Linked DNA regions of Homo sapiens: all the other regions are linked to region 1. The links are contacts of gene promoters, found by promoter capture Hi-C in blood cells and fetal thymus (Javierre and others, 2016). All regions are on one chromosome and are shown on one strand. Each heading gives the region's core, a stretch centred on a gene start or on the middle of the fragment in contact. The rest is flanking DNA. Distances are from core to core; before and after follow the strand shown.

Region 1 (2,843 bases), core at 163-2,662:
CTATATCCCTTCCCTCCTAAAACATAAGAAAGCTGGAACTAGATGTCTGATTCTTAGTGCTAGTAAGATCAGCGCTGCAGTCACTGCTCACACAGGGCTACTGAACACTTGAAATGACTTAGTATAGCTGAATTAAACCGTAACCACTGTTACTTAAGTAAACAATAATCCCTTCTTTGTACCCCTTGGGCTTTAGTAACTTACGTATCAATTTTAATTCCAAAAACTAATTTGGCTGAACAACCAAGATAAGCCAAAAAATATTTCTTATTGCAACAAATTTGCTCTTCAATGATGCGAATGAAGATTCTCCGAAAATTCAAGGTGGATCACAACGGTTTTCATGACACGATTCCCCTCTGGTAGACCTCTCTTAAAAGATGTCGCAGGTATGAAATAAGACTGAGCCACGGGAGAAGCGCAGCCCTTTGGACTCCCCTGCAATTTCTATAGCATTCACTCATATCTTGGAAGCACTTAGAACGAAGCTACCAAGAGGGTTTAAGAATGCAGCAATGAGCCAGGCGGATCATCTGAGGTCAGGAGTTCGAGACTAGCCTGACCAACACGGTGAAACCCCGTCTCTACTAAACACAAAAAATCACCGGGCGTGGTGACGCCCGACTGTAATCCCAGCTACTGGGGAGACTGAGGCAGGAGAAGCGCTTGAACTCGGGAGGCGGAGGTTGCAGTGAGCCGAGATCGCGCCACTGCACTACAGCCTGGGCGACAGAGCGAGATTCCGTCTCAAAAAAAAGAATGCAACAATGATACTGCACTGAGCATGCGGATTTAGCCTCAGACTAAAATTTGCGACAAAAATGCACGACTTTTTAGTTAAGAGTAGAGGTTTAAAAAGATGAACGACAAAAAAAGAGACAACCTCCTCCCCAGGCCACACACACCCGAGATTGCAACAGAAATCAAGAGTGCATTTGCACGGCTAAAGTGTCTGGGGAAAACAAAACGGGAAAAATCCTTCCTCCAAAATGGAATTCCTACGGGGCACTAGAGCCCCCGGAGCGGCGCAGCCAGCGCCATCGCCTATTGAGGGCCGCACCACGCGGTCGCCCTGCGCGGCCCACAGGCTGGTGGGAGGCAATGACCCCTCCTGTGAAGGGCGGCGGCCGAAGGCAGCAAGCCTGGCCAGGGGAGAGAGGACCCACTCACGTTCTCGAAGCCTGTTCTTGAAGTTGGGGTCACTTCGTCTTTTGCGGTCGAAGTAGATGCAGTACCCAATGAAAAGGGCCCCGCATACACCGGCGGCGATGGCGCTGTTCCGACCCACCATCTTCTCTACAACGCTGAGCGTGGACGGTGGCGGCAGGGACCGCGAAGGAGCGGTGGGCCACGAACCCTCAGAGCGGTCGGCGCAGCTCACACCCGACGGCCGCGGGCCAGGAACACAGAAAGGCCGAGCACACGCCACTTCCGGTCCCAGTCAACTAAGGGCCTCGAGGTCGTCCGCGGCAGAGCCTGAGCAGAGGCCCAGAGCGCGGCTCCTGCGCCTGCGCAGTGGGCGAAGCCGGCGTTTCCCCTGCGCCGCTGGGTGTACGCACTGGAGTCGGGAATTTGCACGTGACCACGGACTTTTTTTCATATCCGCCGACCATGCTGTAACGAGGCGTACGCGTTACTGGCGTGCACGTACTCAGAAGACTAGCTGACAGCCTTGTTTGTGGCAGACAGAGATGCAGGGTCCCAGACTGCGAATGCTTCATCTTGTCTAACACAGGCAGCCTGTGACTTGTTTGAATTAAACTGTACTTTCTTTTCAGGTTGCCACAATCCATTGTGCGTAGTGGTTCCATTTCAAAAGAATGTTACAGGATAGCCTCATTTTATGATAACTGGAATAAAATTAAATGGAGTAATTTCTTGAAAAATATACACAATTGAAGAAAAAATAGAAAACGTGAATTGTTTTATAGCCACACGAAAACATACACATGATCAGGCCAGGCGCGGTGGCTCACGCCTGTAATCTCAACACTTTGGGAGGCCGAGGCAGGCGGATCACTTAAGGCCAGGAGTTTGAGACCAGCCTGGCCAACATAGTGAAACCCTGTCTCTACTAAAAATACAAAAATTAGCTGGCCATGGTGGCCGGGGCCTGTAATCCCAGCTACTCTGGAGGCTGAGGCGGGAGAATCGCTTGAACCAGGAGGCAGAGGTTGCAGTGAGCCAAGATCGAGCCACTGCACTCCAGCCTGAGTGACAGATCAGGAGTCCGTCTCAAAAAAACAAAATATATATATATATGATCTAACTTAAGATATTGACAAGGAAAATCGTGGGCAGAAAGCAGGCATTAAACAGACACTGTAAGTTGAGGGGTATCGAAGTCAAGCATCAGTGTCAAGAGACATTGGAACCAGAGCTACCTTACCTTGAATAGGGGCTGGGTAAAATGAGGCTGAGACCTATTGGGGCACATTCCCAGGAAGTTTGGCATTCTTGGTCACAGGATATTTACAGGGAAGGGAACAAGTTAATAATGTTTACCTAACAGACCCAGGAAATGTCCTGATGTCCTGATATCTTAAGAACAAAAGCATTCTTAGTTTAATTTTCCCTTTAAAGATAATATTGATCCTTGCAGAAGACAGTAGTTACACAGGATTAACAGTCCTTTGACAAAGACCAGGCAGTGTCTCACACCTGTAATCCCAGCACTTTGGGAGGCCCAGATGGGCGGATAGCTTGAGCCCAAGAGTTCAACACCAGCCTGGGCAACATGGTGAGACCCTGTCTCCACAAAAAAATTAAAAACTTAGCCAGGCGTGGTGGCACACACCTGTGGTCCCAACTACATGGGGAATGATGCGGAAGTATCCCTTAAT
Region 2 (2,843 bases), core at 101-2,600, 510 kb before region 1:
ATGATTTTATTTTAAGTCTCATCTCGATTTAATTTTGTGAGAATTTTTTAAAATTGTCTGTTTTATTGAGAAATTGCTCAGAGATCATATACAATGAGAAACTCGGCTAGAAGAAGATAAACAAAACAAGTATAACAGAGACAACGTTCTTTTAAAACATTTCATTTTGCAGACCAATAATAAAACTTGTAAATCTTTTAAAAATACTTTTCTTATGGTGTATAAATTCTGATATTTTACTTGAAGCTAATAAAGCCACCATAGAGAAGAAAGTTAATTTTTTCTTCTTTAAGCTTTCCATAGGTAGTATAATTTAAATAATTCTGTGGTACAGTTTCAACACCTCAGATTGAGCACTTTTGTTTACGAAGTAAGAACAGTAATCCTCATGTAAAAAGGTGGTATTGCTACCCTAGACAGCAGATGGTGTTATTAAATACACAGGCAAAGTCTAAGGTCATAAGGAACTAACAATTAACCAGAAATACGATCTGTCACAGTCGTTTAATGGGTAACCTAACAGATATATACCGCTTGTATTCTTCTGAGTGGTGGGAGGTAAATAGTCAAGCTTCAGAGCAGTTGCACAATCGTTTAGAAATATTGTAATTATATTCTTATTTAAGCATTTAGGGAAACCAACAAGCGAGAAAGAAAGTGAAAATCAGTGTGATTTCCTCATAATACTGTGTCCTGTTAATCTGCTTTGAAAAATACTTTACAAATTCAGACAGCACAATTTCATAGCTATCCCTGAATCTAACTCGTCTCCCCAAACTAGGAATGTCAAAATTTTGAATTTTTTACTGCCAGTCTCAGTTGTTCTAAGATCTCTTTACATTATCATAGGTATAATTTTTGCCCCTGAAGTTTTCGTCGTGTGAAGGTAAAAAATTGGAGCATACACAACAGCAAATGGAAGCAGGGTGGCAGGAGACAGCTGGGAAACTGTAGTGGGGAGGAGAGGCAGTCAGCTGGTGGGGTGGACCGTAGGAAGAGAATGGTCTCACCAGTAAGGAATGGGTGGCACTATTAAAATCTGGATGTGGGCTCAATTTCTATTGTAAATCAAATATAAATCTATCACTAAAATAGGAGCTGGATACACAGTGCCCAAGTCCTCGTGAGAGTTTCCCAAGAAGGGTTTACCATGGAGAATGTGTCATCAGTTCCTTTTCAGTTAGGGCTTTTGAGGATGAGGAACTGAATCCTAAATTCACCCAAAGGAAAAATGGCCAACAGGGCAGCAACTAAGCCTGGATCACAAAGAACAAACTGCTTGGTTAGAATTTGGAAGAGTGGCTGGGTGCAGTAGTAATATAATCCCAGCACTCTGGGAGGCTGAGGCGGGAGGATCACTGGAGGCCAGGAGTTTGAGACTGGCCTGGGCAACATAGCAAGACCCCCATCTCTACAAAAAAAATACAAAAATCAAGGCCAGGTAGAGTGGCTTACACCTGCAATCCCAGGACTTTGGGAGGCTGGGGTCTCTACCAAAAAATTAAAAATTAGCCAGGTGTGGTGGTAGTGCATACCTGTAGTCCCAGCTACTAAGCAGGCTGAGGCAGGTGGATTGCTTGAGCCCAGGAGGTTGATGCTACAGTGATCCATGAACCATGATCACGCCACTGCACTCCAGCCTGGGGAACAAAGCGAGACCCAGTCTCTAAAAAAAAAAAAAAAAAAAAAAAAAAAGTTTGGAAGAGTGAACCTTGTCCCATAGGCAAATAACTACGAAGCATACCCAAGAGTCATGACTCTAGCCATTGTGTCAACCAATTGTAAAAACAGCATCTGGAAAAGCAAAAACATCCTCAGTGCCCCAGGTGAATAGAAGATGAACAATGAAAAGCAAGGTTCAGAGGTCACTGGCTGATCAGGCTAAAAAAGTGGGTAGATTCCAATCTTCGGACAAAAACTATTCTTAAAAGACAAAAAGTTATTCAGTTTCCTTGCTGTTGGATTTGGTGAGGATGTCTGAGTCCCAGAAAATGCATACTAATAAGGACTTTTTTCTTATACAGTTTCATGCATTTATATATGTTTATTTAAATTTCTCTAAATTTAATTTGAATAAGGCAGGCAACAGCATCTCAGGGCACAGACTCATAACTGGAGACCTTCATCCACAAGCTTAGCTAGCTAGATTTTCCGTGTGGCCAGGACGCCTGCTGAAACTTCCAGCAGTCCTCAGAAAAACTGATGAGATACCCTTGGGCTGAATGAGTAAGAACTTTCTGGAGAGTGGAAGACTGGTGAAAGTCCAGCTGGAAAAACATATGGCAGCAGAGGCGGAAAGAGTGCTTTATGACCGGGAGCTTTATAAAAAAAATGTCTGAAGGCTCAAGGCAGCCGTTACAACCTAAGATCCTACTAAGCATGATGGATGTTTTTACTTCTAGGATTGTCTCCAATTTACCTGGACCACAGCCAGCACCGTATCCTCAGGCACCCCATGGGACAGTACATACAGAAGAACAGCATCACACCACATCCTATCACCAAGGCCAGGATTCTGTGCCTCTGCCCCCCTCCCCACCTCCTTGAAACGGGGGAAGTAGGGGGAAGAGTCAATTCTTCTTGGAGCACATGAGATGGTAGCTTGCTGTGTTGTCCTGAAAGAAAACAAAGTTTGTAAATCACTGTAGATAGTTTTTTTTTTTTTTTTGTAATAGATATGTCGGGAGGGAAAATGACTATGGTAAATTCCATTCTCAACCACACATTAACTCAGAGAATTCTTGAGCTACACAGTGACAGACTGAGCTCAAGGAGAAAGACAGGCATTCTGAGTTTCAGACTACGGAGCCATTTGGAGGTGACATGTACAGAACAATGCACAG
Region 3 (2,843 bases), core at 198-2,697, 360 kb after region 1:
AGCTGAGATAGCACCACTGCACTCCAGCCTGGACAACAGAGCAAGACTCCATCTCCAAAAAAAAAAAAAAAAAAAAAAAAAAAAAGATGAGACATAAATTTGGATGAAAGACATTTTAGTCTATTAAAAACAGACTCCAGGGCATGGTGGCTCATGCCTGCAATCCCAGTGCTTTGGGATGCTGAGGCTGGTGGATCCCTTGAGGGTAAGAATTCAAGATCAGCCCAGACAAGACAGCGAGACCTCAACTCTACAAAAAATTTAAAAAATTAGCCAGTTTTCGTGGCATGTGCCTGTAGTCCTAGCAGGGTGGTGAGGTAGGAGGATCGCTTGAGCCCCGGAGTTTGAGGTTATAGTGAGCCATGACTATGCCACTGCACGCCAGCCTAGGCGACAGAGCAAGACCCTGTCTCTAAAACACATAATAAAATAAAATAATAAAAAATAAAAACAGACTCCATACTATTAAGCTTAGCAACTTTTACTCAACATCAAGCTTGTGTATGGCAGTCAAGGGAAAAGATGACTTACCTGGATTTGTGATGTTGAGTAGTTTACAGGAATAAGGATCCTCCCTGTCTTCCACAGGCACTTCACAGCCATGAGCACCTATTATGAACTTCACAAGCACACTGAGAGATGTGTTGGCATTAACATCAGTTACTGATCTTCACCTCGCACATGCACGTTTCCTCATGCCCATTTCAGAGCTTTTACTTTGAGACACAAGTGTTTATGAGGATTAATTCTCTACCTTTATTCTTCTAGTCAGACAAAATGGGGGAACAAGTAAACTGAAAGTTGCTAACTACCAAGTTACTTATGCATGAGTCCTTATTGCAATGCTATATTAAAGCAAGTATGAATATGTCTGGCCTCGCTACAAGCAAATGTTCATATCATTTAAAAGCAAACTATAGTAAAGTCAGTTCTCATGCCCATACCTAAAAACATATCTATATCTAAAATTTTCCTTTGCTGCCTTCTTCTATTTCAGAAAGTGTTCCTTTTGCTCAAGATTAGGTCTTTCCATCCAAGAGGAAATCCCCTTCTCTCCTAGACCTTGCTTCACTGGTTACCCCTGTAACTAGTGACTCCTTCCCTCCACATTACAAACATGATAAAGTCCTGACTCTAATTATTCTCTTCACCTTCCATCCTTCCTTGCCACCACACTTTACACTGAGGTCCTACAAAGAAATTAAAACTGCAGCCTGTTTCTTACTTCCCACTCATTTTATAAAACAAGAGTTTTAGCTTTAATATCACCACCTCCACTGAGATTCCACTAATGTAACCAATGAGCTGCTGCTAAATCAATAGACACTCTTGAACTCTTACCTTCCTGGTTTCTCTACGGCTTAATACTGCCCAGCTCCCTAAAATGCTCTCTTCCCTTCCTTCTGTGGCCTGCTCAGTCATCTTCACTGCCTCTTGTTCCCCAGCTTGTCCACTGAGAGTGGTATTAGTCTAGGGCTCTGCCTTTGGGTCTTTTCTCAATCTACTCATTTTTTTTACTTCCTCTCCCTAAACAATATTATTTATTCTCATGGCTTCAAATAGCATGGGAATGATTCCTGAATTAGTAACTCTAGTTGTTTTCTTTTTTTTTGAGACAGAGTCTCGCTCTGTCACCCAGGCTGGAATACAACAGTGTAATCTTGGCTCTTTGCAGTCTCCACCTTTCAGGTTCAAGTGATTCTCCTGCCTCAGCCTCCTAAGTGGCTGGGATTACAGGCGTGTGCCACCACGCCTGGCTAATTTTTGTATTTTTAGTAGAGACGGGATTTCACCATGTTGGCCAGGCTGGTCTCGAACTCTTGGCGTCAAGTGATCTGCCTGCCTTGGCCTCCCAAAGTGCTGGGATTACAGGTGTGAGCCACTGTGTCCGGACCTGAATTAGTAACTCTAGTTTAGACCCATGTAAAGGACCTGTAAATTCACTGGACATCTTCACCCAGATAACCCACAGACAGCTGTGTGCTAAAGCCTGCTACTACTGGCTTCTGGGAGCCAACTGTCAACTTTTCAGAAATTTTGTGAGACGGTTATTAAACATAGCCTTTATTTAAAATTAAATTATATAATCTTATAATATATATTAAAATCAAAGGAAATACTCAAATTAATCACTTAATGTTTTACTACATTTTACTATTATGTTCTTGAGATCATTTATATTTATTACATCTACATGGTGGAAATAGTATATATGGCATGCTACTGCTTATCTTTCCCCCACTCTGTGTTCAGTGATGTCACATTAGTCACTTGAATTGGCCATAGTGGAAATATTCACACCCTAGAAACTGGCAAATAATACAAATAAGGGTTTGGTTTATTGTTTTGTTGACTGTCTAGACTTAAGAAAGTATAGAGAAAATGTTGATAATGCAAATTAAGCTTAATGTGATGTGTCTATCTATAGCCACTACAGAGTGAATAGTTAAAAAAAAAAAAAAAAGTCAAGGAAGATACGATTCCAGTGTTCCAAAACTATTACCTGATACAGCATAGAAGTCACTGACTTTATTAAGTGTAAAGCTGACATATCTTAGTTGTCACTTTAGTCCTCACCTCACTGTTTAACTTAAAAGAAAGACTTTTGTCACAACTACACTCTTTTGTTAACTGCAACCATAAGTTGGTCATAGATAGGAGAGTCTGACAAACAACAAAAGCGTTCTATGAGAATCAACTGGTTTCATGGAATTTACGATAAACAGTATTGTATAGGTTATTATCTGTCAATTACAGGCTGTATATACTTTATGTCAATAAAATTTATAATAAACATGTATGTACATATAAGCATCATTTTTCCCAGAGAGCCAGTTAGTAAA
Region 4 (2,843 bases), core at 123-2,622, 340 kb after region 1:
ATGGCTCACTGCAACCTTCACTCTCCAGGTTTAAGCGATTCTCTTGCTTCAGCCTCCCGCGTAGCTGGGATTACAGGCGCTCACTATCACGCCCGGTTAATTTTTGGATATTTAGTAGAGACAGGGTTTCGCCATGTTGGCCAGGCTGGTCTGGAACTCCTGACCTCAAGTGATCTGCCCACCCTGGCCTCCCAAAGTGCTGGGATTACAGGCATGAGCCACGGCGCCCTGCCTGAATTTAAAAAAAAAAAAAAAAGATTGGCTTAGTTGGATTTCTGATTCCTAGTGATGTTTATGAATTGCATGTTCTCTTCTGAGGACTGCCTTATCATGCTGCTTTGCCATCTGCCCTCTGAGTTTTCTATTTTTCTTGTTCATCTATGCAAGCTTTTAATAAAGTAATTATCTTAATCCTGTGCACATTTTATATGCTAAAATAGTTTTTCATTTGCTACTTAATGCTATTTTTGAAATTCAGAAGTCCATAAATTTCACCTTGGCAAATCTGACAAACTTTTCCTTTGTGATTATTACTATTAAATTCTGAGCTGAGAGAGCTATGCCCCCCTGTCCCAAGGTCTGATATATATTGAAATCTTAATGTCTTCTAATTTCTCCATGATCCCATTTTTAATTCTGTGCACAGCTGGCTCCTTAGTCCTGCTCAGGTCTCAGCTCCACTACCTTCTCCTCCGAGAGGCTTTCTCCAGATGTCCTCCAGAAGGCTCCAACTCCCAACTTCTATCACATCAACCTGTTTTATCTTATTAATACCATTTATCACTCTGATATTTCTTATTTTATTTTATTATTAAACTAACTGCCTCTACTAGAAGACAAACACCTTGAGAACAGGAAGGAGCTTGCCTGATCAACCACTGCATCCCCAGCATCGAGCCTGGCCTGACATGACTGACAACTCAAAATGTTTGCTGAATAAATAATGTTGAACTAAAAATCAACCAGAATTGACTATAGTATAGAGGATTAAATGAAAGATATACCTCTAATACTCTAAAAACTTTCATGTTAAAATGAAGGGATAAAGTACTTTACAATAATGTCTCATTTTAGCCAGCAGTATAGGGAAACCATACAAAATTCAATTTGATAAGCTAGGTCAGTGGTTTATAAACATTTTTTTCCCTCTGCACAGAGTGATATAAACTTTTTCTTTTTTTTTATTTTTATTTTTTTGAGACGGAGTCTCACTCTGTAGCCCAGGCTGGAGTGCAGTGGCGTGATCTCTGCTCACTGCAAACCCCACCTCCCAGGTCCTGGTTCAAGTGATTCTCCTGCCTCAGCCTCCCAAGTAGCTGGGATTACAGGAATGTGCCACCATGCCTAGCTAATTTTTGTATTTTCAGTAGAGATGGGGTTTCACCATGTTGGCCAGGCTGGTCTTGAACTCCTGACCTAGTGATCTGCCTGCCTCAGCCTCCCAAAGTGCTAGGATTACGGGCGTGAGCCACCGCCCAACCTTTCCCTTCCTTTCTTTCCTTTTTTAAAATAAATAATATTTTTTTCCTCCTCCAAAACAGATAAAAATATTCCAAGAGTCCGGATTCCTCAGGCAGTTTATCGCTCTGTATTCAGCTAATGTATTTTCTTCTAAAACTTTAATAGTGATAGAGTTTGGAAGGATTGATAGCATATATACTTAGGATAAGGAACTGATAGGACTTGGTGAGTACCTGGACATGAGAGTGACGATAACTCTCATGATTCTGGTTTAGGTGACTTGAGGAAAAGGAGATGGTTACCCAAGATTAAAAATACAGGCGATGAGAACAGATGGGATGGAGACAATGTTACCATTAGAATGCCCATGGGACATTCAAGTGGAGAAGTTCAGGAGGCAACTCAAAGCATGTCTGGAGTTCACAAGAGATGCTGGGGCTGTAATTATAGATTTAACAGCCTTCAGCATACAGGCAGTAATGAATGAAATTGCCTGGGAAGAATGAGTAAAATAAAACAGAAGGCTAGGTAGCAAATCCTAATGATTAATATTTAAGAGGAAAGCAAAAAGGAAATAATGAATCATACCAAAAGTAAAAACTATAGTGACCAGATAAAAATCCTCACCTTGAAACTACAAATCTAGAAAAGATGATGATAAAACGAGTAATTCTCTGTACTGTCCATTCAATTGACATGACATGTGACATGCTATTTCACAGTGGGTCCTTCCTGGCACCCAACTCCATTTTGTCTGTGACTAGGCTATGATACAACAAACAAATTCAATGAATAATTGAATGTGTTACCAGAAAAATTCCCTAGTCCTCCCAAATCATCTTGACTTACTCATGGAACTTAAATAACCCATCAGCTGTTTTGTTACTAAGCAAGGAAGAAGCTTTATCTTCCACCTATCTCCTAAACCTGTTTCTGCTCCACAACACAGTTTAATTTCTATTCCTCACCTCTGCTCTCATACACCTACTTTTTATTCTGATGTAAGGCAATTATGAAGCCAGGTATCTCTTAAGATCCAAAACAACTTGTTTATGGCAATTCCCTTACTAAGATCATAAAAACCAAAATAAAAGTTGGGAAAAAATAGCATGATACAGGTTGGAAAAATGAGATATCATATCTATCTCTCCCATAACATAAGCAAGCTGTCTGTAACTCCTTTCACGCATCAACTCTTTTCCATAAAGCTTCTAATTTCTCATCCAAACAACAGAGTAGCTTAAATATATACAGTACTTCTGTGCCTATAAACATTAACAACTTCTTGTGGATTGGAGAAATGACTATATATAAAGAATTTCAACCTTCACAAAAAATAAGGATATAGGCTGGGCACGGTGGCTCACACCTGTAATCCCAGC
Region 5 (2,843 bases), core at 207-2,706, 280 kb after region 1:
AAAGCAGTTGAGATGAATATTAAATTCAGCTGATTAGAGAAGCAAACAAAAAGAGCAGTCTACAGCAAGGTGCTTATCTACTGTACTGCTTTACTCACAGGAAAACAACCTCTCTGGGTCAGCTCTTTAGATGTTACAGCGCTGAACACTGCACGAAAGCTGAGTTCTCCTCTCCTGATGAACAGCTAGTTATGCAACCTTGCTGAACACTAAACATTCCTGAAACAAACAGGGTATCAAGATCAACAGTATTTATTAGAAACTCCCCAGAGACCTGGCCTTTTCCAGTAGCTTGTATCCAAAGCTCCAACAAGAAAGAAGCTTACTGTGGAAGTCTGGGAGTCTGTTGGGGACCCTTTACCTTTGTGTAGTGTTGCCAGATTCAGCAAACAAAAATACCAAATGCATAGTGAACTTTGGATTTCAGATAAACAGCCAATCTTTTTTTTTTTTTTTTTTAGTATAAGTATGAGACATGCATGGGGGCATACTTACTTAAAAATGATTTGCTGTTTATCTGAAATACAAGCTTAACTGAGCATCTTCGATTCTATGTGGCAGTCCTGATGGGGACATAGGACAGAATGAATCTTGATAACTGGGTTTTATGAGCACATGCTGTTTCCACAAGGGCCATGGGTCAGGATGATGATTTTACCAGCAGCATGTGTAATTGGTAGGCAGAAGGAGGAAGGAACCTGAACAGGCCAAATGCTTCCAAGAGAAACGTTTTTGGACACCCCTCCCTGTATTCTCCTCCTCACCAACATTTTTCTCTTTAGACATGGTTTGGAATTTCAGTGTTTGGATACAGTTTCTTAATATATTAATGTAGAATCTCAGTGGAGTCTATGTAAATTATTACAGTTTACCTCTTGGAGATTTGTTGTTATTGATGGGCACCCATTCAGCTAGGGTTTTTCACTATTTGTTGAGGCTGTTTTGTTTTCTGAGAAACCTGCTGGAAATGTTCCAGAAAATATTGATCTTTAGTGTTAGTCTTTGATCTGTAAAGGGCATAGCATCCGTTTTGCAACTACCTAACAACATTCCTAACTCTCCTTTCATCTGCCTGCAACTAAACTCAACAGTAATAAAGATCTGTTCATGACTTCTTGTTTTTTTACCATGGTTTTAAAACTTGTTTATTACCACTGTTTTAAAAAGTGTAGATTTAGGGCCTGGCGCCGTGGCTCATGCCTGTAATCCCAGCACTTTGGGAAGCCGAGGTGGGCGGATCACTTGAGGTCAGGAGTTCGAGACCATCCTATCTAACACAGTGAAACCCCGTCTCTACTAAAAATACAAAAAATTAGCCAGGCGTGGTGGCGGGTGCTTGTAGTTCCAGCTACTTGGGAGGCTGAGGCAGGAGAATGGCGTGAACCCGGGAGTTGGAGATTGCAGTGAACCGAGATCGTGCCACTGCACTCCAGCCTGCGTGACAGAGTGAGACTCTGTCTCAAACAAAAACAAAAACAAAAAAAACAGAAACAAAAATTAGCCGGGCGTGGTGTTGCACGCCTGTAATCCCAGCTACTCAGGAGGCTGAGGCAGGAGAATTGCTTCAACCCGGGAGGCTGAGGCAGGAGAATTGCTTCAACCAGGGAGGCTGAGGTTGCAGTGAGCCAAGATCACCCCACTGCACTCCAGCCTGGGCAACAGAGGGAGACTCTATCTCCAAAAAAAATTATAATAAAGGAATAACGAATGGCTACTCCATAGGCAGAACAGTCCCGAGGACTGCTGGGTGCCCATTTTTATGGTTATTTCTTGAGTATATGCTAAACAAGGGGTGGATTATTCATGCCTCCCCTTTTAAGACCATGTAGGGTAATTTCCTGACGTTGCCATGGCATTTGTAAACTGTCATGGTGCTGGTGGGAGTGTAGCAGTGAGGATGACCAGAGGTCACTCTCATCTCCATCTTGGTTTTGGTGGGTTTTAGCCAGCTTCTTTACTGCATGCTGTTTCATCAGCAAGGTCTTTAATGACCTGTATCTTGTACCGACCTCCTAGTTCATCCTGAGACTTAGAATGCCTAACAGTCTGGAATGCAGCCTGGTAGGTCTCAGCCTTATTTTACCCAGCTCCTATTCAAGATGGAGTTGCTCTGGTTCAAACGTCTCTGACATATTTCCCCCCTCCCTTTTACGAGAGAACCCTTAATCCTAAGGGCTGCAGAGGGATGAAGATCCACTTTCTGTAACTTCTTTATGCTGAACAGGGGTGATGATATTCCTGCCTAACTGTTGGGTCTCTTGCATTCAGGGTAGAGGAGCTCAGTTCGAAAGCGTTGGTATGGCGAAGGCCATTCATAACTCTTGAGTTCCGACAAAAGGTATATCTGGAAGATTAATAAGTGTTCAGTTTAAGAAAACATTTAGTAAGCTTATCCTGCATTCCTACACAAAGAGTATAATCACAGCAATATATTCCACAACAGTAAAATAAAAAAAATAAAATTATCCCAAGTAAACTGAATTAGAAAGTTTTCCATGAACTGGGCAATTGTTTAAATCAAGCTAATAAGGAGTCACTAGCCAATTCCAATATGTGCCCAGAATTAGAATAACATTACCCATCACTCTTGTTTCTTCTGAGCAGCAGCCAGAGATCACTGGTTGGTTCACAGGAATAAGTGGGATCATTCTCTTGTCTTCCATAGGTCTGTGGGACACAGGTCAGGAACTGTGTAGACAAGGAGTGAGGCCAGTTTTCCCAAGCGGCTTTTATTGGCTCTATAAGTCAAGTTTGATTCCATAAAGGAACACACACCATTCCAGTTGAAGCCTTGGTAAAATAAGCAGTTTCTCCACTTGTGTCCCAAGGTCACCCAGTCAGTG

Evidence for each region. The method cuts DNA at HindIII sites, captures the fragments that hold promoters and counts their contacts. A CHiCAGO score of 5 or more calls a contact.
Region 2: a contact is called between a fragment that was not itself captured here and the fragment with the promoter of TOMM20 in region 1, in 1 of 17 cell types (naive B cells). The highest score is 5.1, in naive B cells.
Region 3: a contact is called between a fragment that was not itself captured here and the fragment with the promoter of TOMM20 in region 1, in 1 of 17 cell types (endothelial precursors). The highest score is 6.4, in endothelial precursors.
Region 4: a contact is called between a fragment that was not itself captured here and the fragment with the promoter of TOMM20 in region 1, in 1 of 17 cell types (endothelial precursors). The highest score is 5.1, in endothelial precursors.
Region 5: a contact is called between a fragment that was not itself captured here and the fragment with the promoter of TOMM20 in region 1, in 5 of 17 cell types (erythroblasts, activated CD4 T cells, naive CD8 T cells and 2 more). The highest score is 6.9, in erythroblasts.

The regions. Positions count from the first base shown.
Region 1 is chr1:235,127,425-235,130,267 of GRCh38, forward strand. It overlaps TOMM20 (translocase of outer mitochondrial membrane 20), which reads right to left and starts at 1,413. Exons shown (of 5, transcript NM_014765.3): 1 at 1,171-1,413. The coding sequence starts at 1,291. It overlaps SNORA14B (small nucleolar RNA, H/ACA box 14B), which reads right to left and starts at 513; the gene lies at 379-513. LOC105379283 (a long non-coding RNA gene) reads right to left here and starts at 777. Exons shown (of 2, transcript XR_949295.4): 1 at 205-777. RefSeq lists enhancers at 1,141-1,360, 1,591-1,690. The HindIII fragment of the contact is 4,902 bases long and covers 1-2,843 here.
Region 2 is chr1:234,619,487-234,622,329 of GRCh38, forward strand. No RefSeq gene overlaps it. Among named protein-coding and RNA genes, the nearest start is that of LINC00184, 8.4 kb to the right of the region's middle. The HindIII fragment of the contact is 1,562 bases long and covers 570-2,131 here.
Region 3 is chr1:235,488,637-235,491,479 of GRCh38, forward strand. B3GALNT2 (beta-1,3-N-acetylgalactosaminyltransferase 2) reads right to left here. Exons shown (of 12, transcript NM_152490.5): 3 at 532-632. Among named protein-coding and RNA genes, the nearest start is that of B3GALNT2, 14 kb to the right of the region's middle. RefSeq lists a silencer at 2,732-2,843. The HindIII fragment of the contact is 1,907 bases long and covers 495-2,401 here.
Region 4 is chr1:235,471,730-235,474,572 of GRCh38, forward strand. The region is part of intron 5 of B3GALNT2 (beta-1,3-N-acetylgalactosaminyltransferase 2); the gene reads right to left. Among named protein-coding and RNA genes, the nearest start is that of B3GALNT2, 31 kb to the right of the region's middle. The HindIII fragment of the contact is 1,975 bases long and covers 386-2,360 here.
Region 5 is chr1:235,408,569-235,411,411 of GRCh38, forward strand. The region is part of intron 3 of TBCE (tubulin folding cofactor E); the gene reads left to right. Among named protein-coding and RNA genes, the nearest start is that of TBCE, 43 kb to the left of the region's middle. The HindIII fragment of the contact is 1,859 bases long and covers 528-2,386 here.